Regions from separate parts of the Homo sapiens genome. Here regions 1, 2 and 4 are each linked to region 3. Evidence: promoter capture Hi-C in 16 types of primary human blood cells and fetal thymus (Javierre and others, 2016). All regions are on one chromosome and are shown on one strand. The core of a region is centred on a gene start or on the middle of the fragment in contact, and the rest is flanking DNA. Distances in the headings are between cores, read along the strand shown. Region 1 has its middle 31 kb from the start of ANK1. Region 2 overlaps ANK1 (ankyrin 1). Region 3 holds the start of DKK4 (dickkopf Wnt signaling pathway inhibitor 4). Region 4 overlaps GPAT4-AS1 (GPAT4 and GINS4 antisense RNA 1).

What was found. Contacts are between HindIII fragments. The CHiCAGO score rates a contact against its expected background, and 5 or more counts as called.
Region 1: a contact is called between a fragment that was not itself captured here and the fragment with the promoter of DKK4 in region 3, in 1 of 17 cell types (activated CD4 T cells). The highest score is 6.6, in activated CD4 T cells.
Region 2: a fragment that was not itself captured here is called in contact with the fragment with the promoter of DKK4 in region 3 in 5 of 17 cell types (naive CD8 T cells, non-activated CD4 T cells, total CD4 T cells and 2 more); the score reaches 7.7 in naive CD8 T cells.
Region 4: a fragment that was not itself captured here is called in contact with the fragment with the promoter of DKK4 in region 3 in 1 of 17 cell types (neutrophils); the score reaches 6.3 in neutrophils.

The regions. Positions count from the first base shown.
Region 1 is chr8:41,825,409-41,832,176 of GRCh38, reverse strand. It overlaps a transcript of ANK1 not described here. Among named protein-coding and RNA genes, the nearest start is that of ANK1, 31 kb to the right of the region's middle. RefSeq lists enhancers at 3,292-3,951, 3,792-4,086, 3,638-4,195. The HindIII fragment of the contact is 1,406 bases long and covers 1,573-2,978 here.
Region 2 is chr8:41,709,255-41,714,097 of GRCh38, reverse strand. All of the region lies in intron 16 of ANK1 (ankyrin 1), which reads left to right. Among named protein-coding and RNA genes, the nearest start is that of MIR486-1, 51 kb to the right of the region's middle. RefSeq lists an enhancer at 1-882. The HindIII fragment of the contact is 1,599 bases long and covers 2,478-4,076 here.
Region 3 is chr8:42,373,238-42,380,072 of GRCh38, reverse strand. DKK4 (dickkopf Wnt signaling pathway inhibitor 4) reads left to right here and starts at 2,844. Exons shown (of 4, transcript NM_014420.3): 1 at 2,844-3,138; 2 at 4,243-4,393; 3 at 5,160-5,312; 4 at 5,714-6,010. The coding sequence starts at 3,028. The coding sequence ends at 5,973. The HindIII fragment of the contact is 5,398 bases long and covers 2,140-6,835 here.
Region 4 is chr8:41,546,298-41,553,002 of GRCh38, reverse strand. All of the region lies in intron 1 of GPAT4-AS1 (GPAT4 and GINS4 antisense RNA 1), which reads left to right. Among named protein-coding and RNA genes, the nearest start is that of GINS4, 20 kb to the right of the region's middle. The HindIII fragment of the contact is 3,862 bases long and covers 1-3,779 here.

The DNA.
Region 1 (6,768 bases), core at 1,026-3,525, 550 kb after region 3:
TTAACAATTCACATGCAGTAAAATTCACTTCTCTTTTCATTCAGTCCTGTGAGTTCTGACAAATGCACAGTCATGTATCATCACTATGGTCAAGATACAGACAGATCCATCGCCCCGCAAAATTCTCTTGTGCTGCCCCTCAGTAGGCAAATCCTCCCCGCTTTTCCCACCCCTGCCACCACAGATCTATTCTTCACCCCTGGATTTTCCCTTTTCCCAATTGTCTCCTAAATGGGATCATATAGTCCGAAGGCCTTGCATCCGTGTAGCAGCATGCTTTTGGGATGCACCCGTGTTGCTGTGTGAATCCATATTCGCTCCTTAGTAGCACTCCACTGTACGAGGTGCTGCGGTTGGTCTATTCATTCACACGCTGAGGACGTGTGGGTTGACTCCAGTCTGGGGCGGTGATAAATAAAAATAAAGCTGCTCTGCAAATTTGGGTACAGGTACCTTCTTAATGGTCCTTCCTTCCTTCCTTCCTTTTCTTTCCTTTCATTCCTTTTTTCTTTTTCTTCTTCTTTTTTTTTTTTTTTTGACAGACTTTTGCTCTGCACTGGAGTGCAATGGCGCAATCTTGGCTCACTTGTAACCTCCAATTCCTGGGTTCAAGCAATCCTTCTGCCTCAGTTTCCCGAGTAGCTGGAACTACAGGCATGTGCCTCCACACCCCACCAATTTTTGTAGTTTTAGTAGAGATGGGGTTTCACCATGTTTTCCAGGCTGGTCTTGAACTTTTGACTTCAAGTGATCCGCCCACCTTGGCCTCCCAAAGTGCTGGGATTACATGCATGAGCCACCATGCCCGGCAAACATGGGTTTTCATTTATCAGGTAAATACCCAGGAGTGGGATTGCTGGGTCATGTGCAAAGTATGTTACTGTTAGAAGAAGAAACTCTTGGGGCTTGAGGTATGAGCGCCCGCAGCTGCCCACACTTTTCAGATGATAGCCCCAGATTGCTGAGGGGCTTTCGGTTTTACAGATGGGGAAATGGAGGCCTTGAGAGGTCAGATGACGAGTCCATAGTTTTAAGGAAGGTCGTCGTCAAGGTCCAGGCGGAGCCTCGTCTCCTGTCTCCCAGGCCGCTGTGCTTTCGTCTGTATCTCAGTTCCCTTCATCATCTGTTGCTGCAAGCTTATTCTCATGGGATCCGTTTATGGGACACATTGGGCCACCAACAATTAGCCTCTCCATGCACTGATAAGGAATGTGACCAAAAAGATTAATCCATTTGGTGAGGTGACCAAGTGATTATGTAAACAGCCGTGTTGATGAACAGAATCTATCTTCAAAGGTTATGACAGTATTATACACACAGCCCTCACGCTGGGCATTTGGCTTGATGGAGCTGTCTGCAAAATTATTCTTCAATGATTCATCTACCAAATTATTCTTCTCAGACCTTTTCAAGCAGAACCGACACAGAACTGGTGTCTGCGTTTCTTTGGCACTGGGTAGGTAGGAGCTGTTTGCTTTTCTTACTCGCTTCTGACTCCCTTTGCCTTGGGATTTGGGTCCTATCCCCGAAAGCCCTAGTCCCAGACAACCTTTTCTTTACCTGCTTCAAGCTTAGAATCAAGAGAGCAGTTCCTGACACTCCCTGGGAATCTTGGCTTTACCACAATTCTAGCTTTTGAACATTTCAATGGAGGATTAATTGTTATTCATGCTGTCATTGTTATGTAGGTCATTTTTTCTTTGGATCAAGTTGACGGGATTTTATCATCTGTGGAAAGCAGCCATATACCAGAATGAAGAATACTTTTGATTGATGATTTAGCTTAAAAATAGTTTCCTCTTTTAATAAGCCTCATTCGGGAACAAATGACCCCAGAGGGAAACTGGGTGCTTATCTAGTAGCCTATGTATTTTGCAGAGAATTTCTAGAAATGTGTGTATTTTGAAGAAAAGAAGAGGGGCTTTGGCTGTTTGGTCCTGGAGATGGGTCTAGGAGCCTGGGGTGGGGGCATCTATTGGTCTCTCCTAGCTGACCCCTGCCCAGAGAACTGCAGTGCCCCTTGCCCAAATAAAAGGTATGCCCGAGTGGCTGAGTGGGTGTTTCTAGTTGGATTACTGCAGGCTCAACATTAGATTCACCAAATCATTATTTAGTACTTGCTCTGTGCTGGGCAAAATTTCATTGATGTTATCGGAGGAATATCTAGGCAAAGAGAGGAGACCTCACTTATAAAAACTAAAGGCCTTGTCACGTCAGATTTTTTTTTTTTTTTTTTTTTTTGAGACAGAGTCTCGCTCTGTCGCCCAGGCTGGAGTGCAGTGGGGCGATCTCGGCTCACTGCAAGTTCAGCCTCCTGGGTTCAAGCCATTCTCCTGCCTCAGCCTCCCAAGTAGCTGGGACTACAGGCGCCCGCCACCACGCCCGGCTAATTTTTTGTATTTTTAGTAGAGACGGGGTTTCACCGTGTTAGCCAGGACGGTCTCGATCTCTTGACCTCGTGATCTGCCTGCCTCGGCCTCCCAAAGTGCTGGGATTACAGGCATGAACCACTGCGCCCGGCCCAGATTTCTTTTTAAAAGGCAGTTAGGGATGGCAGTCTTAGACAATGAGCTCCCCTAGTGCCCTTCCAATGGAGAAGCACAACGAGAATCTAATTTGTAAATACCAGGTCTTACACGGTGAGTGGGACTAGGAGAAGGCATCGACTGCACGCTGGGGTCAGTTGCCTGGGAGCGAATCCAGCTCCACTCCCTGCTGTGGCCTTGAGCAAGTAGCACTTAACCTCTCTGAGCCTCTTTCTGCATCTGAAAAATGGGATTGGTCATAAGGTTGCGATGGGCATGTGCCCCCTGAGAAACATCAGTAAGGTGGCAAGGGTGGCGAAGACGCTGTTCCTCGGGTTTTGTTCCAGCGACGAAAGCTAAGTTCATCAAGCCACAAGAAGAAATCTCAGATTTTTTTTCCCCCTAGGAAATGTGAAAATTGAAGGTTTCCTTTGAAGCCTTGTGGCAGAAGCTTCTGAAAGCCGAGTCACAGATCTTGCACAGTGCTGTCCCAAACGCCGCTGATGTGCAAACGGTGGCCCCCGTCCCCGTAGGGAGGCCAGAATGGGACAGCAGAGATTGCGGCAGGGTGTCCGGTGAGCAGGGGACCCTCACGGACCGGTCTAGACGCGAGACTAGGATTTATTTATTAATTCTTTCAACTGCGGCGGTGGAATCAAGATGGCCTAGAGGGCGCCAGGGGGCGCTCTGGAGAGGACGGGCGGCAGATCCGAATGGGCCCCGAGGAGGGCGGCGCCCCGGGTCACGCGCGACTTCTGCGGAACCCGCCTTTGCCGCGCAGTTTTCGGGATTCGCGGGAAGAAGGCGCAGCCTCCCAGGCCCAACTCTCTCCCCAGCACTTTCGCGTGGAAAATCTTCAGGAAAATGAAATGTAGCTCCCCGTATGCCCTCTCCCCAAAGATGTAAAGGACTCTGGAGCGGGCGCGAGGAGCAGTTCCTGTTTCATTACGAGCGCCCCCTCTCCAGCCCGGTCATTGTAGTGCGAACCAGAACAATCAAATTAACAGAGGCACTCAGGAGCCTTTTAGTGCTACTGTTCCAGGAACTGAAGAGGCCTCGGTATGGGAATCCCCACAGAGTAATAAACAGCACGTGGTTGGAGCGCCGAGGAGGAGACTCGCTCCACCTGGTGGCGGTGATGTCCTCTCGGAGGAGGTGGCAGGACACAGAGGCTGGCGGCCACAGACGGGATCTGTAATTCAGTGCCCGCCATCACGTACCTCGGCCTGGCCCTGTGCAGCTTGGAAGCTGGAGACGGAGAAGGTGGAAAATGAGAGTTCATGGAGTGTCGGGCCTAAGCTGAAGGAGGCGGCGCTGCACGCACAGACGAAGGAAGGCGGCCCAGGGCGGCTGCTTGGTGTGGAGGCCACAGCCCAGCACGGGCGGAGCGGGGCGGAGCGGGAGGATGGGCGGGAACGGCGCTGGGTGTTCCTGCTTCCTCCTCTAGCTCGCAGCCTTTCATAGGAAATTAAACATTCAGCACTGGAGGACCGACCGGGAACTCCATCATTTTGATTCCAACCTGGTGCCCAGGGTCTGGAATCAAAATCCCTGAGCGCTCGCGGCCCTGGGGCGGGGCTGAACCCTGAATGATCTTAGTCTGTTTTAATAGGAGAGTTGCAAACAGTGGGGGCTTCCTCTTTATTGCTTGGGCAAGGGTGTGTGTGTCGGGGGTTGGGGGGCGGGGGCGGTGTGTATCTGTGTATGCATGTGTGAGTGCGTGTGTGTATGTGGGTGTGTGCACGTGAGTGTGCATGTGTGGGCGTGAGCATGTGTGTGGGGTGTGTGAGTGGGTGTATGTATGCGTGTGTGCATGTGTGAGTGCGTGTGTGTATGTGGGTGTGTGCGTGAGTGTGCATGTGTGTGGGCGTGAGCATGTGTGTGGGGTGTGTGAGTGGGTGTATGTATGCGTGTGTGGATGTGTGTGAGTGTGAGTGGGTGTGCGTGTGAGTGTGTGTGAGTGTGTATATATGAGGGGATGTGTGTGGAGATGGGTAGGTATTCGAGTGTGTGTGTGTATGTGTGTGAAGAAATAGCCTTTGTAAAACCAGGTCAAAAAATACCTTTTATTACTTTAATGTTATAAAATAACTGTAGTTAACTTGCAATCCTGTCTAACCTACATTTCCTTTTAAAGGCCATTACATTTTGTTTTATTTTAAAGCTGTGAAGATAGTATGTGGAGAGTTTGCATCTCATTATTTCTTCATTTGATGCTTGACTAATTCAGGCCCTAAATTCCAACTCAGAGAGCAGTCTAAGACGCTCGCAGTCCTGTGTGGGTGCATCTTGGCCAGCTACTCTGGCGGAGGCATACATCTCATTCACACCAGCAAGGGGAAAGGCTGGATTAGGAAAACGCAAGATGTGAGTCCTGTACTTTTCTTACAAGTGTTGCTACCATTAGATGGGTATTTATTCCTGGCTCCCAGCAACCTTGTCTGAGAATTTTCACTTTTGCATAGAAACAAAAAAAGGGTAGGGGAATATGGAGCTCAAATAATGTGAAGCAATCTGAAAATCAGCAAATATTACTGAGCACTACTATGTGTAAGACAAGGTTGCTGATTATTAAGGGCTTATATTATTACCAGCAACAGAAAACCAATTCTCAAAGTCATTAGAAAAGACAATAGATCAAGCAGTGAATTATGCAATCTGTGCAGCAAAGGCTAAACATATTGACAGGAACATACATACAGACCAGAATTATTAGGCAAGGCTTTACGGGATGGAGAATTAAAGGCAGGGAAAGATTTAGATGGATGGAGGGGAGGAGAGGGGAATTTGAAAACTCACATGGAGATCCAAGGATAAGAGCAGAATGTTTATTGTTACGACAAGGCTAGAAAAAAAAATGAAGGGTACAAAATATTATGCATGGTATAATTCCAGTTCTGGGAAAACATGTATTATTCATGTGCAAAGAAAAAAGACTAAGCAAATGCATCAAAATGTAAATCATGTTTAGGATGTGATAGATTATGGGTGATTTTTAGTTTCCTCTTTTTACTTTTTGGTATTTCCTATTTTCAATGAAATGATTTATTCTTATCACTAGAAAAGAAAATGTTGTTCCTTATTTGGAGAAGGGCCGGCTGAGGTGCTGGTGGGACGGTGGGACGCTCAGCACACAGTGAGCCTGGGGTGCAGGGGAATCCAGAGGCCCAGGCAGCAGAGACAGAGGGCAGGGGATGGTGCTAAGCCAGGGAGTGGGTGGTGTAGGCTGTCTTTGAGACCTGGGCAGCAGGAGTGAGCATGGTGACCTGAGGAGGAAGGGACCAGCTCTGAGGTTACATCAAGGTGGCAGAGCTCCCACCTTTCCTACAGCCCCAGCCTGTTTTCTCTGGGGACAGTTACAGTGAGTAACTTAGACCCCATGGGGTCATAGACAATCAGCAATGGGCCAGAGTAGCCTTTTCTAGAAAAATAGGGCAATTGCACAGTCAGCAAAGGGAGGATTAGAAATCTCACAGCTGGCAGGTTGGGGGCACCAAGGACCCCTCCCCTCTATAGGATTGGATGCTAGGGGCATACATTTCCTAGTTCTGACATTCCCAAGTCATCAGGCCTCTTTGGATTAGGACTAAAGGCTTGTTAATTGCCTACAAAAAGTCACTAGTGGGCAGGACCAAGGGTGTATTAGTGTGTTCTCATGCTGCTAATAAAGACATACCCGAGACTGGGTAATTTATTAAGAAAAAGAGGTTTAATGGACTCACAGTTCCACATGGCTGGGGAGACCCCACAATCATGGCAGAAGGCAAAGGAGAGCAAAGGCACATCTTACATGGCGGCAGGCAAGAGAACATGTGCAGGGGAACTCCCCTTTATAGAACCATCAGATCTCGTAAGACTTATTTACTATCACAAGAACAGCATGGGAAAGAACCACCCCCATGATTCAATACCTCCCACCGGGTCCCTCCCACAACATGTGGGAATTATGGGAACTACAATTCAAGATGAGATTTGGGTGGGGACACAGCCAAACCATATCAAAGGGTAAGGTGAAATCCCACCACGCTGTGCAGTCTCCACCAGGAGAAAATGGACTTGTTTCAAGTGTTGAGCTCAGGCCTGGTGGTTCACTGAGAAGCTCAGCTTGGTCAACAGGACACAGTTCTCAGAGGCAGTTGCCACAAAGAGACTTGCGGAAACACTGAACTGTTGGTGGCCAAAACGACTTCTGACTGTACGGTGGACATGGGAGGCCAGAGTGTGATTAAAGTGAAAGTGTGAC
Region 2 (4,843 bases), core at 2,028-4,527, 670 kb after region 3:
GTCCCTCAGGGAGGGGGGTTTCCACAGCAGCCCAAGGGTTTTGCGTTCTGTTGCTATTTTTACCTCAGAAATCACGCCTCACTTTCCCACATGTTACCTGCCCTGTAATCACGCTATTCAGGGCCCAGGAGTGGGATGGGAAGTGGGTAACAATTCCCAGCCAGGGGTTACCTCGCAGAGGCGGAACTTGTTTTATACAACAAATGTGTCCCCAAGCAGTTGCACGTCAGCTGGGTTTTGTAAACTGACTGTCAGAGGTCAGTGTGGATAAAAATCCCTGGGGAGTGGTGAGCCCGTTTCTAGCATTGCTAGATTCTGACTCCGTGGGACTGTGCAGTGTGGCCTGGAAGCCTCATTTTTAACCTACTCTCTGCATGGTTCCAAGGCTGGGGCCACAGCGACCGTACTTTGAGAAATCCTCAGGGCTGCTGGCGAGCTTGCTGGAACCTGGAAACAAGAGACCTCTTTAAAATGAGAATGATCATCTCCAAATTCATTTGTCTCTGAGATCAGACTTTTAGATAGTGGCATTTTTGTAGGGAGGCTCACCTGAATGTGAGACACATTGGCCCAGCCTCACACCAGCTTCGGAGGCGAGCTGCTCAGAGCAGCAGGTTCCGTGACCCTTGAGGGAATCAGAGGAGGGAGCAGATGGGTTGCTTCTGGAAGACCCCACGGGGTTGGGTAGTACAAGGATAAAGCTGGAAGGACCATTTTTGGGAACAGGCTGCCTGCTGTGGGAAGGCGAGGCTGTGTAGGGATAGGCACCGCGGGACTGGTGGCCAGCGGGGAGAAGGGGAGAGGAGAGGGAGCGGGGCCAGGAAGACAAAAGCCACACGCAGTACCCGCACTCTATGGGGCAGCCAGGCGCACGGGAAACAGGATAATTTATGGGAGATCCGTCATGTGGCAGGCATCCAAGTGCTGCAGAGAAGGAGCCTCGGGGTGGGACCCCATGTGACTCCAGCCAACACCTGCTGGCTTAGGGCCTCCGCAGCCCAGGCAGGGAGCGTCAGTGCCAGTGCAGGGCTTCGGCGCGTTCTCCCTCCCTGGACAGACACGTGTCCCCATCTTGCAGCATCGCTCTTCTACAGACGCCGGCTCCCGACAGCTGTCTCCTCCTGTCCCTGCTGCAGTGAGTCCCACGTCGCTGTGCAGAGGGAGCACACGGCCCCGCTGCGATGTCGACTTACTCCTGCCTCTAAAAATAAAAACCTGGACTCCCCTCCTCCTCACTCCCCTACTTATATAAAAGGAACGGGAGCCAGGTTCATTATATTTAAAGATAACTAAATCCAAGCACAAACCCTGTACAGATGGGCTTTGTTTCCATGGCAAAAAATAGTTTCCAAAGTAGTCTGGCAATTTTGTAGAATTTCACATGCAAATCTCTCTGCACCCAAACCAAACCCTCCCCTTTCTAATTTTGATGCTAATGTTGTTTGAACATTTGGGCAGAGCTCCCTCCGTGTGCATTCCTTAGGATGAGCTCATTTCCTTGGGAAAGAAGAGCCTTTTGCGGGCACACATTCCTCCCTCCCCTCTCCGTGACTTTCCAGCCTAGTTGTCCTTGTCCTTGTCACCTGCAGAAGTTCATTTGTTCATTTTAGTTCTGGTTTAGGGGAAGCTCAGAGGGGCAGTCCGTGTTCTGAGAGTCACAGTGGCACTTGTATCTCAATTTTAACCAGAGGTTTACCTGGTAGCCTGAGCCATGTCCAGGGCAGGCCTACCCTTGGGCAGGACAGGGGGCTGGCCTTGCCAGTGTGGACATCGCTGCTTCCCAGGTGGCCTGGGATTCCTGAGGATACATCCATGAACACACTGCAGATTGCTCAAGTGATGGACCCTTGTACATTAAAAGATGGCCTAATAGGGCCGGGCACGGTGGCTCAAGCCTGTAATCCCAGCACTTTGGGAGGCCGAGACAGGCAGATTGCTTGAGGTCAGGAGTTCAAGACCATCCTGGCCAACATGGTGAAACCCCGTCTCTACTAAAAATACAAAAATTAGCCGGGCATGGCAGCGTGCACCTGTAATCCCAGCTACTTGGGAGGCTGAGGCAGGAGAATCGCTTGAACCCGGGAGGCAGAGATTGCGGCGAGCCAAGGTCTCACCACTGCACTCCAGCCTGGGCAAGAGAGCGAGACTCTGTCTAAAAAAAAAAAAGATGGCCTAATAATCATTGCTCTCATGTAGTTATTAATGGAAAAACCAAACTCCATAAAGTCTTTTGGAGGTTTACTCTGAGCCAACGTGATAACCATGGCCCTGGGCAACACAGCATCAAGAGGTCCTGAGAAAGTGTGTCTGAGGCGGCTTACAGTTTGGTTTTTTATATTTAGAGAGGCAGGAGTTACAGGCAAAGACGTAAATCAATACATGGAAGGTATATATTGACAAAAATACCTAGAAAGTCCCAGAGGTTATAGGCAGATTCCGAGATTCTTTAATTTGCAATTGGTTAAAGGAGTAAAGCTTTATCTAAAAGTTTGGAATCAGCAGAAAAGCATGAAGTTGAGAGAAGGGTCTGTTCACCAGGGTCCTGGGCCGAGTGACCTCCAGGGGGCATGTGACTCAGCCCTTGCCTACTGTGGCCTTGGGTCCTGTTGATAATTTGGTGTCTTGTCACAAAGAGTCCCTTTGGTTAGTCTTATGATCTCTTTTAACATGAATGCCGGTCAGTTGCGCCTAAACTCCGAAAGGGAGTGGGTATAGCAAGGCGTGTCCAACCTCCCTTCCTTCGTGGCTGGGAATTCAGTTTTTAAGGTTTTTCTGGGATCTCTTTGGCCTAGATGGGATCTGTGTGGGGCTTAGGGTTTTATTTTTCATTTACATAGTGAAAATCTTCTCTGGGCCAGCGCTGACTGGTGCTCCGTGTCTAATCGTGGGGAGGCTTAGCTCTGTTTTGAGCCGACCCTGCATCTCAGGCTGGATCTGCGGCATCGCACCCCATTCCTTTGCTCTCTTTTAATACAGTGCAAAAATCATGTTGTTTAATTAAACTTATTATAATCCAAATGCCGATCTTGTTACATGAACACAACCTACGAAGAACAATTTAATGTTTTCTCATAACATAATCAAATTAAAAAGGAAGAATACTAGAAAGGATTATCTCATGTCATTCTTCAAAGAAAATGATTTTTCAATTTAATTCAATTCCTTGGGTAAGTCTCAACTTTTCGTTTCACCACAAAAGCCACCTATGGGCCCACCTTGCTGAGCTTTCCCTGTACCCAGGGCTTTGACTGCCTTGGCCAGCCCCTTTCTTTCCCTTTCCTCTTCCTGACCAGTGATCCTGGCAGAATCAGAAATGTTGGTTTCCACAGTAAGAGAGTGGCTGGCAGGGAGAACTCAGTCCTCAGCCAGAGGAATGCTGGCCGAGGTGGGGAAATCTCGTGCCCTGAGACAGATCCCACGTTGGGCAGCCATCTGCTATGGGCCTGGGTGGGCGCATGTCCAGGACGTCCTCCAGCCTGGCATTGCCCTTAACCCTGAGTGCCCTAGGGCCTTGCTACTGAAAGTGTGATCCCTGGACTAGCATTGTCAGCATCATCTGGGGGCTTGCTAGAAATGCACAATCTCGGGCCCTCCCTAGCGCCTCTGAATCAGACACTGCATTTTAACAAGGTCCCAAGGGATTTGTGTACACATCAGAGTTTGAGAACCACTGTTCTAGCTGGAATTACCTGGGCTGTGCAATCAGAAGTTCAAGGTTGGGTTATCTGTTGTTCTGCTTACTACGTGACATTAGATAAGGTGCTTAACCTTACAGAGAATTGGCCTCTTTCTCCACACAATAGGATAATAAAAATGCCTGCCCTAGTGACCTTATGTGGTTTTAATGAAGCGCAAAAAAAATGCAGGTGAAAGTGGTTTTCGGCAGTGATGAGCAAAGGTGCCCACCTGGGAACTGTCTCTTGCCTGCAGGGAGATAAGGAGTGTGCTCCAGAATGTAAACCCATGCGCTGCTTCCTTCACTGAGACAGTCTTGCTATCAATAATAATAATAAAAACAAAAATTGGCTGAATAAACAGTGCACAGTGACATCATTGATTTACTTTTGAGGCAAGCTTCTTCATCTCATTGTGCAATTATAATGTCTTGCAAACCAGTGCACTGCAAAACCATGACACACAGGTGCATTACTTTTTAAAATTTTTATGTGTAGAGACAGGGTCTTACTCTGCTCCAGGCCATAGTGCAGTGGTACGATCAGAGCTCACTGCAGCCTCCAACTCCTTAGCTCAAGCCATCTTCCCACCTCAGCTTCCTGAGTAGCTACAGCATGCACCACCATGCCCAGTTAATTTTTCACTTTTTTTGTAGAGATAGGGTCTAGCTATGTTGCCCAGGCTGGTCTCAAACTCCTGGCCTCAAGTGATCCTCACACCTCAGCCTCCCAAAGTGTTGGGAATACAGGCATGAACACTGTGCCCTGCCAACTTTTTATATCTTAATTTTGGAACATACCTTCACGTATAGTATCACGTTTGATCCACCTAACAACTTCGAGAAATGAACAAGATAGATGCTATTATCCACTTTTCATGACTTAAAAGATACAGAAGGAAGTCTAGGTCATGGAACATCTTGCCCTGGGTCACACAGGTAGTTAACAGTGGAGTGAGGACTGTCCCACATCCTCAAGTCCCTTGCCAGGTGCATGTCCCTTAAACCACCCTGCCTAATGCCGGCAAGGCCCAGAGGGCAGCACTTGGCCCAGTTGCACTGGGAAAGAAAAGGGGCTGATGTTTCTTTTTCTTTATGAAATATTTGGGGTTTTTGGCTCTTATTGCAGGAAGCAAGAAATGAGAATCTTTCATTTCCTTACCCAGCCTT
Region 3 (6,835 bases), core at 1,595-4,094:
GCAAGTGCTGGCATGCCCAGGTTTTTTATTTTTTGTGGAGACAGGGTCTTGCTATGTTGTTCAGGCTGCTCCCTGGCCTCAAGTGGTCCTCTTGCTTTATCCTCCTCACGAAGTGCTGGGTACAAGCATGAGCCACTGCACCCAGCGGATCATGGCATTCTCAGTCTGATATATCTCCAATGACTTTACATTGTGCAGAGAATAGAATCTGATTTTCTTAGCATGGCATATCAGGGTCTGCATCTTGCTTCATCTCATCCTTCCATCATCTGCCGCAGCCACACAATCTCTCACTAGCACCTGAGTGCACCTCCTCCCTCTTGCACACACCTCACCCTCTGAGCCCAGGTGAGGATATCTCCGACTTCCCAACTTAGGAAGCCCCTATGCAACCAACAAAATTCAGCTCAAATATTACCTCATCTGTAAACACATTCCTTTATTTCTCTAGAAAGTCTAAATCATGCCTTCGTCTGTATTTATATCTTCATAAGTCCTCCACCCTTATATTTATACCTTTATTTTAGTGCTTGTCATAATACATTGAAATCATCCATATGTACATGTCTTCTATCTGGATCTCTCTCTCTCTCTGTGTCACCCAGGCTCTGTCATCCATACATACAAGTTTTCTGTCTGAATCTTTCTCTCTCTCTCTCTCTCTCTCTCTCTCTCTCTCTCTCTCTCTCTCTCTATATATATATATATATATATATATATAGGCTTAATCTCCTGGGCTTAAATGATTCTCCCACCTCAGCTTCCTGAGTTGCTGAAACTACAGGTGAACACCACTATGACTGGCTAATTTTTTTTTTTTTTGAGATGGAGTCTCACTCTGTTGCCGAGGCTGGAGTGCAGTGGCACCGTGTTGGCTCACTGCAACCTCGGTCTCCTAGGTTCAAACAATTCTCCTGCCTCAGCCTCCCGAGTAGCTGGGATTACAGGTGACCACCACCACGCCCGACTAGTTTTTATATTTTTAGTAGAGACAGGGTTTCACCATATTGGCCAGGCTGGTCTCGAACTCCTGACCTCAGGTGATCCATCCACCTCAGCCTCCCAAAGTGGTGAGATTACAGGCGTCAGCCACCGCACGCGGCCTACTTTTTTTTTTTTTTTTTTTTTTGTGGAGACAGGATCTCAATATGTTGCCCAGGCTCGTCTTGAACTCCTGAGCTCAGGAGATCTTCCCACCTTGGCCTCCCAAAGTGCTGGGATTACAGGTGTGAGCCACTGTGCCCGGCCATTGGAGTTTCAAATTTTATTCCTAACATGTAATCCGAGGCTCTGTTCCATGCCAAGTGCTCTAAGTGCTCAGTGGCTGTTTGTGCCGTGTTACAGGAGTTCCCGTCAGTTCTTTCGCCTGTGTATATTGCCAGGGGCCTTTGGTAACCTGAAATTCCCTTACAGTGAGGCAGCAGGAAGCAGAGAAACCCGGCAGAGACAGAACCCTGGGGGCTCTTTCCTTTATCCTTGGTCATAATTGTACAACTTGAAAATAAATTCTGTAACACCCCTAGTCACCAGGGTTATCATGCTATCAAAGGGTGTTGTTTGATGTCAGTTTAAGGGATTAAAACAAGTAACTTCCATACGAGAGGTAGACAAGCAATACCAACCCAAGGACAAGGGCCAAGTAGTAGGAAGGCTCGAATCACCTGCATCACCCTCGGAATGGCACTGCATTACTCAAAATTGAGAATGTTCCCATGCACAGAATGCTGAGATTCATGTCAATGAATTGATGTTAGGTTGTTCTGCAGGAAAATGTAGTAAATAATAAGATTATCATTTATGGCATAGAAAAAATGCATTTTAGATGACTCTATGCTAAGAGCAATGAAACAATGAAGAGAAAAAATGATTTTTTGATCCAGATCTAGATTGTTCTACCCTTAAAGTATTTAAGACAGTGATAAGCACATGTCTAAATTACCTGACTAATAGTCCAAATGGAAAAAAATCAGACAGGAAAGGGATGAAGCAGAAGTTTTAAAAAATTCGTATTAGGAAAATTGGAAATACATGAAATTTCATCTGAAATCAGCCAGAGACTTGGATCCTTGTTCTGCTTAAGTGAGTTTTACATAATGCAACACAAATTAAATATGTTGCTGATAAAATGGACCCAAAGCTTCGTACTGAATTGTGTAAAATGCGCTATCATTGTTCCCACCATTGAAAAATGGGATTTTCATAAATTACATTATTTTCCTAATAACCCTAACTTCAAACAGTTCAATTTTCATTTAAAGGAAAGTAATTTCCCAAATGGCATTTAGTCAGAACAGGTGCTGTTACGTTCACAACTTTTAAGCGGTTGGGATTTTGACATCTGGATGCCAGAGCTAATCAGGGGGCGTTTTCTCTTTTTCTATCTGTCCTCACTATCTGAAGCCCAGTTTACAGCTTCTCAGTGTATTTTGTACCTCATTAGTTTTTGGCATCCTCTATAGCATATTGGCCAGTATGATTCATCCTTTCTTTGAGCACAATTAGCTGTGAAAACAGATCTTAGGGCAGACTCCCTCCCTACCCCCAAAGGATTACTGAAGGTAGGAAATGCAGGTGATTATCAGAGTTTGCCTTTGATACAGACATCCTGCTCTGCCGTGGCCCTTTGAACTAACTTTGATATGCAATAATTAAGAGGGATTGAACCCCTGGAGGAGAAGCCGCATGGCCCTGCCTCTTCTCTCCTTCTATTGAGTCCTTGTTTTGAACTATTGATCAAACAGATTTGAAGGGATTTGTTGAAGCCTGTGTGGGGCAGGAGGAAGGAACGGAGCGGGGAGGAGGCACATCTGGTTATAAATAGTTTCAGGAGGAACCTGCTGGTCAGACTTTGCTCAGCCGATTTCACGCACCTTACTCAGACTAAGGTTTACTTCTTTCAGAAAAAGCAGTGACAAACAGACGACGTGCTGAGCTGCCAGCTTAGTGGAAGCTCTGCTCTGGGTGGAGAGCAGCCTCGCTTTGGTGACGCACAGTGCTGGGACCCTCCAGGAGCCCCGGGATTGAAGGATGGTGGCGGCCGTCCTGCTGGGGCTGAGCTGGCTCTGCTCTCCCCTGGGAGCTCTGGTCCTGGACTTCAACAACATCAGGAGCTCTGCTGACCTGCATGGGGCCCGGAAGGTAAGGCTGCTAGGGAGGGGGGCGAGGTACGGGACTGCTGACAGCTGGGGTGTTTTGTTTAGGCTTTAGTAAGTCATTCTGATTCATGTATGAAATGTCTTACCTAGCAGGTAAATTGAATTGGTTTCGGATTTGGGAGGGCATCCTGGTAGGATCAGTGGCCTTAGTGTGAATGTATGAAATAAACACAGTGGCTTTTCACATCATTCGGCCATACGTTTGTCTATAAATCACGAAATAAACGAACACTTTGGAAGCTCTACTATGTGCCAGCTCTTTTACATGTAATACGTCATGTACTCTTCCTCACAATTTGAGATAGGTGAAACATTCCCTAATTCCAGATGAGGAAATAAGACTCAGAGATGTTGAAGAGCTTACCCAAGCTCACACAGCCAGCAAGCAAACATGGGAATGAGAATTTAAACAGAGGGCCATGATGCATTGCCTTGTCACCATCTAACTTCACAGAGAGAGTTGTTTTAGGAATCGCTTTATGTATGTGTATATGTTATTATATATCGTATAGATTATTACATATATCATATATGCTACACCTACGTTGTATGTCTATGTAGAAGCATCAACTGTGTATGAGAACAATTGATCTTCGGTATCTCTTTCTCTATGTCAATGAGGCATCATTGAAAATCAAAGGACAGTTCACTTAGGGAAGGGTCTCTAAGCTAAATGTGATTCACTAGAGTAAAAAATCAAATAGGAATGCCACAAACATCAATAGTATGTTTAATGAAACTGTAGCCAGCTTCTAGAGTTAAGATATATTGAAAATCTCATACTCACCTGTTAAGACACACATAGGAAAACATTTTTTCCCATTTTCACAAAGAGCACAGGAAAACTAAATTCTGAGTTAAGTCAATTTTTCAAACTCAAATAGCCTTTGCAGCGCCTAGGTCTCCCCGGGTGACATGAGCTTCCCTTTGTGGGAGAAAACCATTTCCACTGGAGAGTAAGATGCTGCCCAGGGTTTGTCACAGCGCCACTGTCCTTTGGCTCCCTCCGCCTCCTGCCTTCAATAATAAGTCATCTTCCATCGTGTTGGGGGTTTCCTAGCCTTGTGATAACAGATTCCCTCCACAGGGCTCACAGTGCCTGTCTGACACGGACTGCAATACCAGAAAGTTCTGCCTCCAGCCCCGCGATGAGAAGCCGTTCTGTGCTACATGTCGTGGGTTGCGGAGGAGGTGCCAGCGAGATGCCATGTGCTGCCCTGGGACACTCTGTGTGAACGGTGAGCGACATAACGCCAACAGTGGTTTTTAAACCGAAGGTAGTGTCTAAGCCCCATAGACTAGAATATTCCAGGGTAGGCACTCTCTAATGGTGCTTCCTAGATTCATGCTTGAAGTAAATGTATGCAGCTGCCTTTTCTTTTCCTTTTTTTTTTTTTTCTGAGGCGGAGTTTCGCCCTTGTTGTCCACAGCTCACTGCAGCCTCGGCCTCCGGGTTCAGGTGGTTCTCCTGCCTCAGCCTCTGGAGTAACTAGGACTACAGGCATGTACCACCATGCCCGGCTAATTTTTGTTATTTTTAGTAGAGATAGGGTTTCACCATGTTGGTCAGGCTAGTCTCGAACTTCTGACCTCAGGTGATCCACCTACCTCGGCCTCCCAAAGTGCTGGGATTACAAGCGTAAGCCACCGGACCCGGCTTGCCTTTTCTTAATGAAACAAAATAATTTATTTCCTGGCAACAGCTCTTGCCAATGACTTGGAGATAATGATTTTAAAGGAAAGACTCAAGTTGTAATCATTCAAATACTTCCATTTCCACTTGGATACCATTAACTACCTTTAATGGAATGCAATTTCCACTTAGCTACTTTCTCTGCCACATGCGAGCATGTAAATATTTAGCACATGTTCCAGAAATCTAGAAAGTTATATATAAACTGAAGGCAGAGGTGCTGCCAAACTATGCAACAGTAGGATAATTAGTGTGTCTGTGGTTCTCCCCCTTGAAGTTAATAATTCTAGTTACACCTGGTTGTCCCTCAGATGTTTGTACTACGATGGAAGATGCAACCCCAATATTAGAAAGGCAGCTTGATGAGCAAGATGGCACACATGCAGAAGGAACAACTGGGCACCCAGTCCAGGAAAACCAACCCAAAAGGAAGCCAAGTATTAAGAAATCACAAGGCAGGAAGGGTAAGAACAGCATTCGCAGCATATTTTATTTCAGAAATGCATTTTCTCCTCCCAGCCTCTTAAGGATAGGGTGAGACTGATTTTATTCTTCTCCATCCCAGAAACACTTAGGAAGCATGTGCTGTTTGTTATCTCTTTCTGTAAGAAGCTGTGGGGGTCACGTAGAGAGTAGCCTAAGGTAGTCTGCAGCCAGTAACAACGATCAATTCTGATGGGTAGGGGTGGAGTCGCCATGGCATTACTGCTTTTAGCGTAACACCTAGCTCTGTGAGACCTGCGTGCTGTGTCTGTTTTTACTTTGTGGCTGTCAGTCATAGGTCCCATTCCCTTATCCCAGTAGCAAACCCCCAGCAGGCCACTTTCCTTATTTATCACTAAAGCCCACATTAACCTTGTTACAGGACAAGAGGGAGAAAGTTGTCTGAGAACTTTTGACTGTGGCCCTGGACTTTGCTGTGCTCGTCATTTTTGGACGAAAATTTGTAAGCCAGTCCTTTTGGAGGGACAGGTCTGCTCCAGAAGAGGGCATAAAGACACTGCTCAAGCTCCAGAAATCTTCCAGCGTTGCGACTGTGGCCCTGGACTACTGTGTCGAAGCCAATTGACCAGCAATCGGCAGCATGCTCGATTAAGAGTATGCCAAAAAATAGAAAAGCTATAAATATTTCAAAATAAAGAAGAATCCACATTGCATTTGAGCTCAATCTTGGACATTAACTTTAAAATGCTTCCATACAGATCTCTCTTAAAATCAAATCTTGTAGCAAGTGAAATAGCCTGAAACTAGAGAACTAAGAGATGGCGACCTTGTGATGAATGAAACTAGCTTTAGCCTTTTGTCCGTTTTTCCAGAAAACTGATGGGACTCTGTAACCAAAAAAATTATTTCTAATCTAGGGACTCAATTAATTCAAATCTTTAAGAATTGAAGCCAGGCATGGTGGCTCACGCCTGTAATCCCAGCACTTTGGGAGGCAGAGGTGGGTGGATCACGAGGTCAAGAGTTTGAGACCAGACTGGCCAACACTGTAAAACCCTGTCTCTACTAAAAAATACAAAAAATTAGCTGGGCATGGTGGCAGATGTCTGTAATCCCAGCTACTCGGGAGGCTGAGGCAGAAGAATTGCTTGAACCCGGGAGGCGGAGGTTGCAATGAGCCAAGATCGCACCATTGCACTCCAGCCCGGGTGACAGTACGAGACTCGGTCTCAAAACAACAACAACAACAACAACAACAACAACAACAAAGAATTGAAATTGTATATATTTAAAGTGTACTGTGTGAGTTTTGAAATACATATACTATAACCGAGCCACATCTCTCTCTCCAAATAAATCTTTAAACAATTTCTGGTGAAGGGTTGGTGCCTGACAGTATCCTAGGGGGTAAAAAATGATAGCATCTGAAGTTAAAAGTAAATTAATTCTTACATCTTACCAGGAAAATTATCACAGCAAATACTATATTTTTCCTTAATAACTCTATTGTTTATTTCCATTCATTTCTTAGAAGGGAAATGGC
Region 4 (6,705 bases), core at 599-3,098, 830 kb after region 3:
GTCCATGAAACCCAGATTTAAAATCGCTGCTTGAGGCTGTTGGAAGCACTGCTGTCTCTCAGCTACCACTTGGCCTGGGCAAATGCTGTATTGACCCCCGCTTTTTTTTTTTTTTTTTTTTTTTTTTGAGATGGAGTCTCGCTCTGTTGCCCAGGCTGGAGTGCAGTAGTGTGATCTCAGCTCACTGCAAGCTCCACCCCTCGGGTTCATGCCATTCTCCTGCCTCAGCCTCCTGAGTAGCTGGAACTACAGGAGCCCGCCACCACGCCTGGCTAATTTTTTGTAGTTTTAGTAGAGACGGGGTTTCACAGTGTTTGCCAGAATGGTCTCAGTCTCCTGACCTCGTGATCCGCCTGCCTCGGCCTCCCAAAGTGCTGGGATTACACACGTGAGCCACCACGCCCGGCCTGTATTGACCTCTTTTGACTGTGGTCTTCTAGATCTTGGTGCAACAATTCCTCACTAGCTTGTTAGCTCCTTGATGGCTTTAGAAAAATGCTTTTTATGTTTCACCCAGTGTTTGTCTTCACTAAAAATGATCCATATGGCCTAGTCCACCACTACAGCAGCAGAAGGCCCAGTACACTGCCAGGTTACCTCTTCCTGCATGTACTACAAGACCCTCATTCCTTCTGGCTTGGATTTGCCCACACAGCCCTGGCTCCTAACCCTCCAGTGTGACCTCCATTCTCCACAGTCACCAGAGGGATTTCTCTGTGAACTGGATTTCTAAAAACGTAAAACTGGGCTGGGTGTGCTGGCTCATGACTGTAATCCCAGCACTTTGGGAGGCCAAGGCAGGCGGATCACTTGAGGTCAGGAATTCAAGACCAGCCTGGCCAACATAGACAAACCCCGTCTCTGCTAAAATACAAAAATTAGCTGGGTGTGGTGGCATGTGCCTATAGTTCCAGCTACTCCAGAGGCTGAGGCATGAGAATTGCTTGAACCTGGGAGGTGGAGGTTGCAGTGAGTCAAGATTGTGCCACTGCACTCCAGCCTGGGTGACAGAGCAAGACTGCCTCAAAAAAAAAAAAAAGGTAATAATAATAATAAATAATAAATACATAAAATAAAAATGTAAAACGGATTCTATCAGGCGGGTGCAATGGCTTATGCCATTTGGGAGGCTGAGGCAGGCGAATCACCTGAGGTCAGGAGTTTGAGACCAGCCTGACCAAAATGGTGAAACCCCATCTCTACTAAAACTACAAAACTTAGCCGGGCGTGGTGGCGCATGCCTGTAATCTCAGCTACTCGGGAGGCTGAGGCAGGAGAATCACTTGAATCTGGGAGGCGGAGGTTGCAGTGAGCCAAGATTGCGCCACTGTACTTCAGCCTGGGGAACAAGAGCAAAACTCTGTCCACCCACCACCCCCCCCTGCAAAAAACAAACAAACAAACAAAAAAACTGATTATATCAAATATTAAAATCTTTCAGAGCCTTCTAAATGTTTTCATGCAAAATTCATACATTTACATTTTAGCATGACAAATCAGACTCCTGAAGACTTTTGTCTGAAAACCTGTCTCCCATGAGACTCCTATAAGACTCCTCCAAGATGGGAAACTGCCTCTCCTCCTATCCCCGAATCTTGTCTGATGCACCTGCCATGCCCAACTCCTGGGAGTTTCCAGAGTACTGGATCCACCCTGTGGCTTCTGTGCCTTTGCATGTGACCTTTCTGCCTCCAGTAGCCATCCTCTCTTCCTTCCTCAGCCTGGCTAGCTCTCCAGTGTTTCAAGTCTTGGCTTGGGTACCACCTCTTCTGGGAAGACTTCAGGACTCTTCCAGTCTTTCGAGTTCTTCCTGTGTTTTTTCATAATACCCCCTGTTCATTCATTTTTTCTTTTCTCTTTTTCTTTTTTTTTTTTTTTTGAGGCATGGTCTAGCTCTGTTGCCCAGGCTGGAGTGCAATAGTGCCATCTTGGCTCACTGCAATGTCCTCCTGTTGGGCTCAAACAAACCATCCTCCCACCCCAGCCTCCTGAGTAGCTGGGACTACAAGCACATTCCACCACACCTGGCTTTAGTATTTTTGGTAGAGGTGAGGTTTTGCTGTATTGCCTAGGCTGATCTAGAACTCCTGGGCTCAAACAATCTTTCCATCTTGGCCCCCCAAAGTGCTGGGATTACAGAAGTGTGCCACTGTGCCCTGCCCATTCCTACCTTTATACAAGCATAGTATGCTGTGATTTGGTTTTTGTTGGTCTCCCTCGCTAGACTGTAAGCTGCTTTAAGACAGGGGCTTTCTTCTCTGAATGTGCAGCACATACCACAATGTCTAACCCCACCTTTTTTTTTTTTTTTTTGAGATGCAGTCTCACTCTGTCATCCAGGCTGGAGTGCAGTGGCATCATCTCGGCTCACCTGCAACCTTCACCTCCTGGGTTCAAGCAATTCTCCTGCCTCAGCCTCCCGAGTAGCTGGAATTACAGGCACCCGCCACCATGCCCGGCTAATTTTTTTTTTGTATTTTTAGTAGAGATGGGGGTTTCACCATGTTGGTCAGGCTGGTCTTGAACTCCTGATCTCAAGTGATCTGCCTGCCTCGGCCTCTCAAAGTGCTGGGATTACAGGCGTGAGGCACCGCACCCAGCCAGCCTACCTGTTTGTTGACTAAAGTGAATGGAGTTATACCTGGCACCTGCTGTTGTTACTAGGTCACTTACCTCACCTGGCCACTCTTTTTAAACAAGTGCTGGAGTGAGAGGACACTACACCTCCTGCCTTCATTACCACTTTTGCTTATGAATTTTCCTACTTAGGAATTCATATGCTGTCAAATGGCTTATAAATCACTCATTCCCATACATGTTTTAAAAAGTGGGAACTAATATATATCCAAGTTACTAATATGTACTTATATATCTTTTATGTAATTCTTCCCCAAATTTGGGGTAGCTTTTAAAATTAAGGCAAAATAGAAGATTGAAACTGTAGGTATCATAAGGAGATCGGAAACTATTTAAGGAAAGACACAAGGAAGCTCAGAGGGAGGCAGGGGCACACAAAGTGGCTCTGAGTTCCTGGTAGGAAGGCCGGGAAGGGGAACAGATAGGACTCATTTGTCTGATAAAATGAACCATAAAGTTTGAAAATATAAACTTTTACTTGCACTGAATTCTGAGAAAAATTTATTACAGGGATTCTTATATAGAAACAATGGATATGTAATAGATAATGCCTTCAGTTCTAATTTTCAGAAAACATGGAAATGTTTTTCACATGGCTGTCTCTTTGCTAAAAGCAAAGAACTAAAACATTCATCCAGAAATACTGACTAATGGGATCCAGTTTGATACAGAAGTAAAAGTTGGATGGCTGGGAGTGGTGGCTCATGCCTATAATCCTAGCACTTTGGGAGGCTGAGGTGGGTGGATTGCCAGAGCTCAGAAGTTCGAGATCAGTGTGGGCATCATGGTGAGACACCATCCATATCTACAAAAAATACAAAAATTAGCTGGGCGCCGTGGTATGCGCCTGTAGTCCCAGCTACTCTGGAGGCTGAGTCAGGAGAATCGCTTGGACTCCAGGAGGCAAATGTTGCCGTGAGCCAAGATCACGCCACTGCACCCTAGCCTGGGCGACAAAGTGAGACTCCGTCTCAAAAAAAAAGTTGGAGAACCAAGAGAAATGGACTGAAGAAACAGCCCTTCGGCTCTCTCGTGTTAGTTGTTAAACTGTTGACAAGAGTGTGGGCAGCAGCCTACCCATGAGCTCACTAAAGAGGACCCAAAGGGTACACGTTATGTTGTTGACTGGAGATCAGAAAGCTTCAGATGCCAGAAGATGGCAAAGTTGATGATCTTCTACACAAACAAAGGAGGCCTGCTACAGTCTCACCTGGATTGAGGACCAAATCACTTGTCCGGAGGTTGAGGGCAGCCACGTCTGCAAACAGAAGTGGGAGTGGACAGCACACGCTTTAACACGTGAAGCTGGGTGTGGGAGAGGCCATTTCTCACTGTTATTTTCATGACCTATTCTGGAAGTGAGATTGCAGGCCGACCAGAAAGCTATGTGTGCCCAAATCACTCCAGTGTTTCTCATATGAAAACTTGTACACCTTACTTAATTCCCCAAAGAATTTGGTGGGATTTTAATAAAATAGTAAAACTGTAGATATTAAAAAAGAGGTCATAAACTATTTAGGGAAAGAGGACAATTTGACCAGGAAGCTGGGGTACCGTGGTGAGCTGGCGCTTATCTCATAGGGTCCTTATGAGGATTAAATAAGATAATTCATGGAAAGCAATTTGCCTATTGTCCAAGACACAGATAAATATTAATCTCCTTTACTGTTTCCTTTTCTGTAGGCAATGAGTAACCAATGAAGCTTTTTTTTTCAGATGGAGTTTCACTCTTTTTGCCCAGGCTGGAGTGCAATGGCGAGATCTCGGCTCACTGAAACCTCCGCCTCCCGGGTTCAAGTGATTCTCCTGCCTCAGCCTCCCAAGTAGCTGGGATTACAGTCACCTGACACCATGCCTAGCTAATTTTCATATTTTTAGTAGAGATGGGGTTTTACCATATTGGCTTGGCTGGTCTTGAACTCCTGACCTCAGGTAATCCTCCGCCTCTGCCTCCCAAAGTGCTGAGATTACAGCTGTGAGCCACTGTGCCTGGCCCACTGAAGCTTTTTAAGAGGCAATGAAATGGTCAGAATTCTGTTTAAGGAAAATTAATAGGTTCAGTGATAACAGAAGCAGCAATTTGAAGTTTAAAAACATTTACATTTGAGCTGGCAACAACTTTGGGTCCCAGGTTGTTTTAAGTCACTTTAAGAGGCTTAAAACATTCATATGCAAATCTCTGAACCCAAGAAAATAACTTCCTCTTAACCCTAGGCCTGGCCGTTAGGAAAATTTTTTTTTTGAGCCAAAAAATCCCATACTTTTAGGTTTACACTTAAGACATCTTCTCAGGATTAATTGTAAATTCCTTAGAAGCAAAAATAGTCATTTACTTTTATTCTTATTTCCATAGAAACTAATAGAACTGAACAAGAAGCAAGACTTAGGTTAATTGTGTGCTGACTTTACTTCGAGTGGTTTTGTCTTAACAAGCTAGGCAGAATTTGTCAGCATTGTGTTACATAGAATATGACCTGGTTAAAACAGAAAGCTATGTTGAGAAAAATGCCACCTCCTCTAAAGCAATGTGAATGGCAGTGGTTATTCCCTCAAATGAGTCTTTTTCGAATATGAGAACTTATTCCAGTGAAGCTATTGTTGCTGAAAACATTTTTGGATCTTCTTTTCTTTTGTGGAAAGAAAGATTACAGTAAGATGAAAAGGATGGACTCAGGTGCCCTGGCCTCACTGGGGTTTGATCACATCTCTACTTAGAAGTGATGTGGCCTTCAGCAAAGGAGTCTGGTATCAAAGCTCACCAGATGCCATGGCTCATGCCTGTAATCCCAGCACTTTGGGAGCCAAGGCAGATGGATCACTTCAGGCCAGGAATTCGAGACCAGCCTGGCTAACATGGCGAACCCCCGTCTCCACTAAAAATACAAAAATTAGCCAGGTGTGGTGGCACATGCCTGTAGTCCCAGCTATTGGGGAGGCTGAGACAGGAGAATCACTAGAACCCGGGAGGCAAAGGTTGCAGTGAGCCGAGATTGCCACTGCACTCCAGCCTGGGCAACAGGGCGAGACTATGTCCCACCAAATTATAACAAAACAAAAACATCCAATCAAATGGGGGCTTGACTTATTCTCAACAGGACAAAATTCACTTATATTGCCATGGGCAGGCATCATCTGCATAGCAAGACAAGAAATATTCACATCATTATAAGTTTTCTATAAATCAACTTGTACCTCTACAGAGTTGTAAAATTTAAAGACATGGGCACACAGCACACAGGGATCAAGCATTACATTGAAAGGATAGCCAGTAATGTTTTGCCCATTCCAAAATCTCAAATTTTTCCTTGCATAGGTATGTTGTGGAGATTTACAAGTTAATCTACTTTAAAAACAGCTTGATGTGGCCAGGCATGGTAGCTCACGCCTGTAATCCCAGCACTTTGGGAGGCTGAGGCGGGCGGATCACCTGAGGTCAGGAGTTCGAGACCAGCCTGGCCAGCATGGTGAAACCCTGTCTCTACTAAAAAAAAAAAAAAAAAAAAAAAAAAAAAAAAATTAGCCAGATGTGGTGGCAGGTGCCTGTAATCCCAGCTACTCGGGAAGCTGAGGCAGGAGAATTGCTTGAACCCGGAAGGTGGAGGTTGCAATGAGCCAAGATTGTGACATTGCGCTCCAGGCTGGGCAACAGAGCAAGACTCTGTCTCAAAAACAAAAACAAAAAGAGCTTCATGCATAGTAAACTTGGTAAATTAAATATTCTCATTGCCTGCAGAATCTCCTATATATACGGCCAGGCGTGGTGGTTCACACCTGTAATCCCAGCACTTGGGAGGCCAAGGTGGGCAGATCATGAGGTCAGGAGATCAAGACCATCTTGGCTAACATGGTGAAACCCCATCTCTACTAAAAATACAAAAAATTAGCCGGGCGTGGTGGCACACACCTGTAGTCCCAGCTATTTGGGAGGCTGAGGCAGGAGAATCACTTGAACCCGGGAGACAGAGGTTGCAGTGAGCTGAGATCGTGCCACTGCACTCCAGCCTGGGTGACAGAGTGAGACTCCATCTCAAAAAAAAAAAAAAAAAAAAAAAAAAAGAATCTCATATA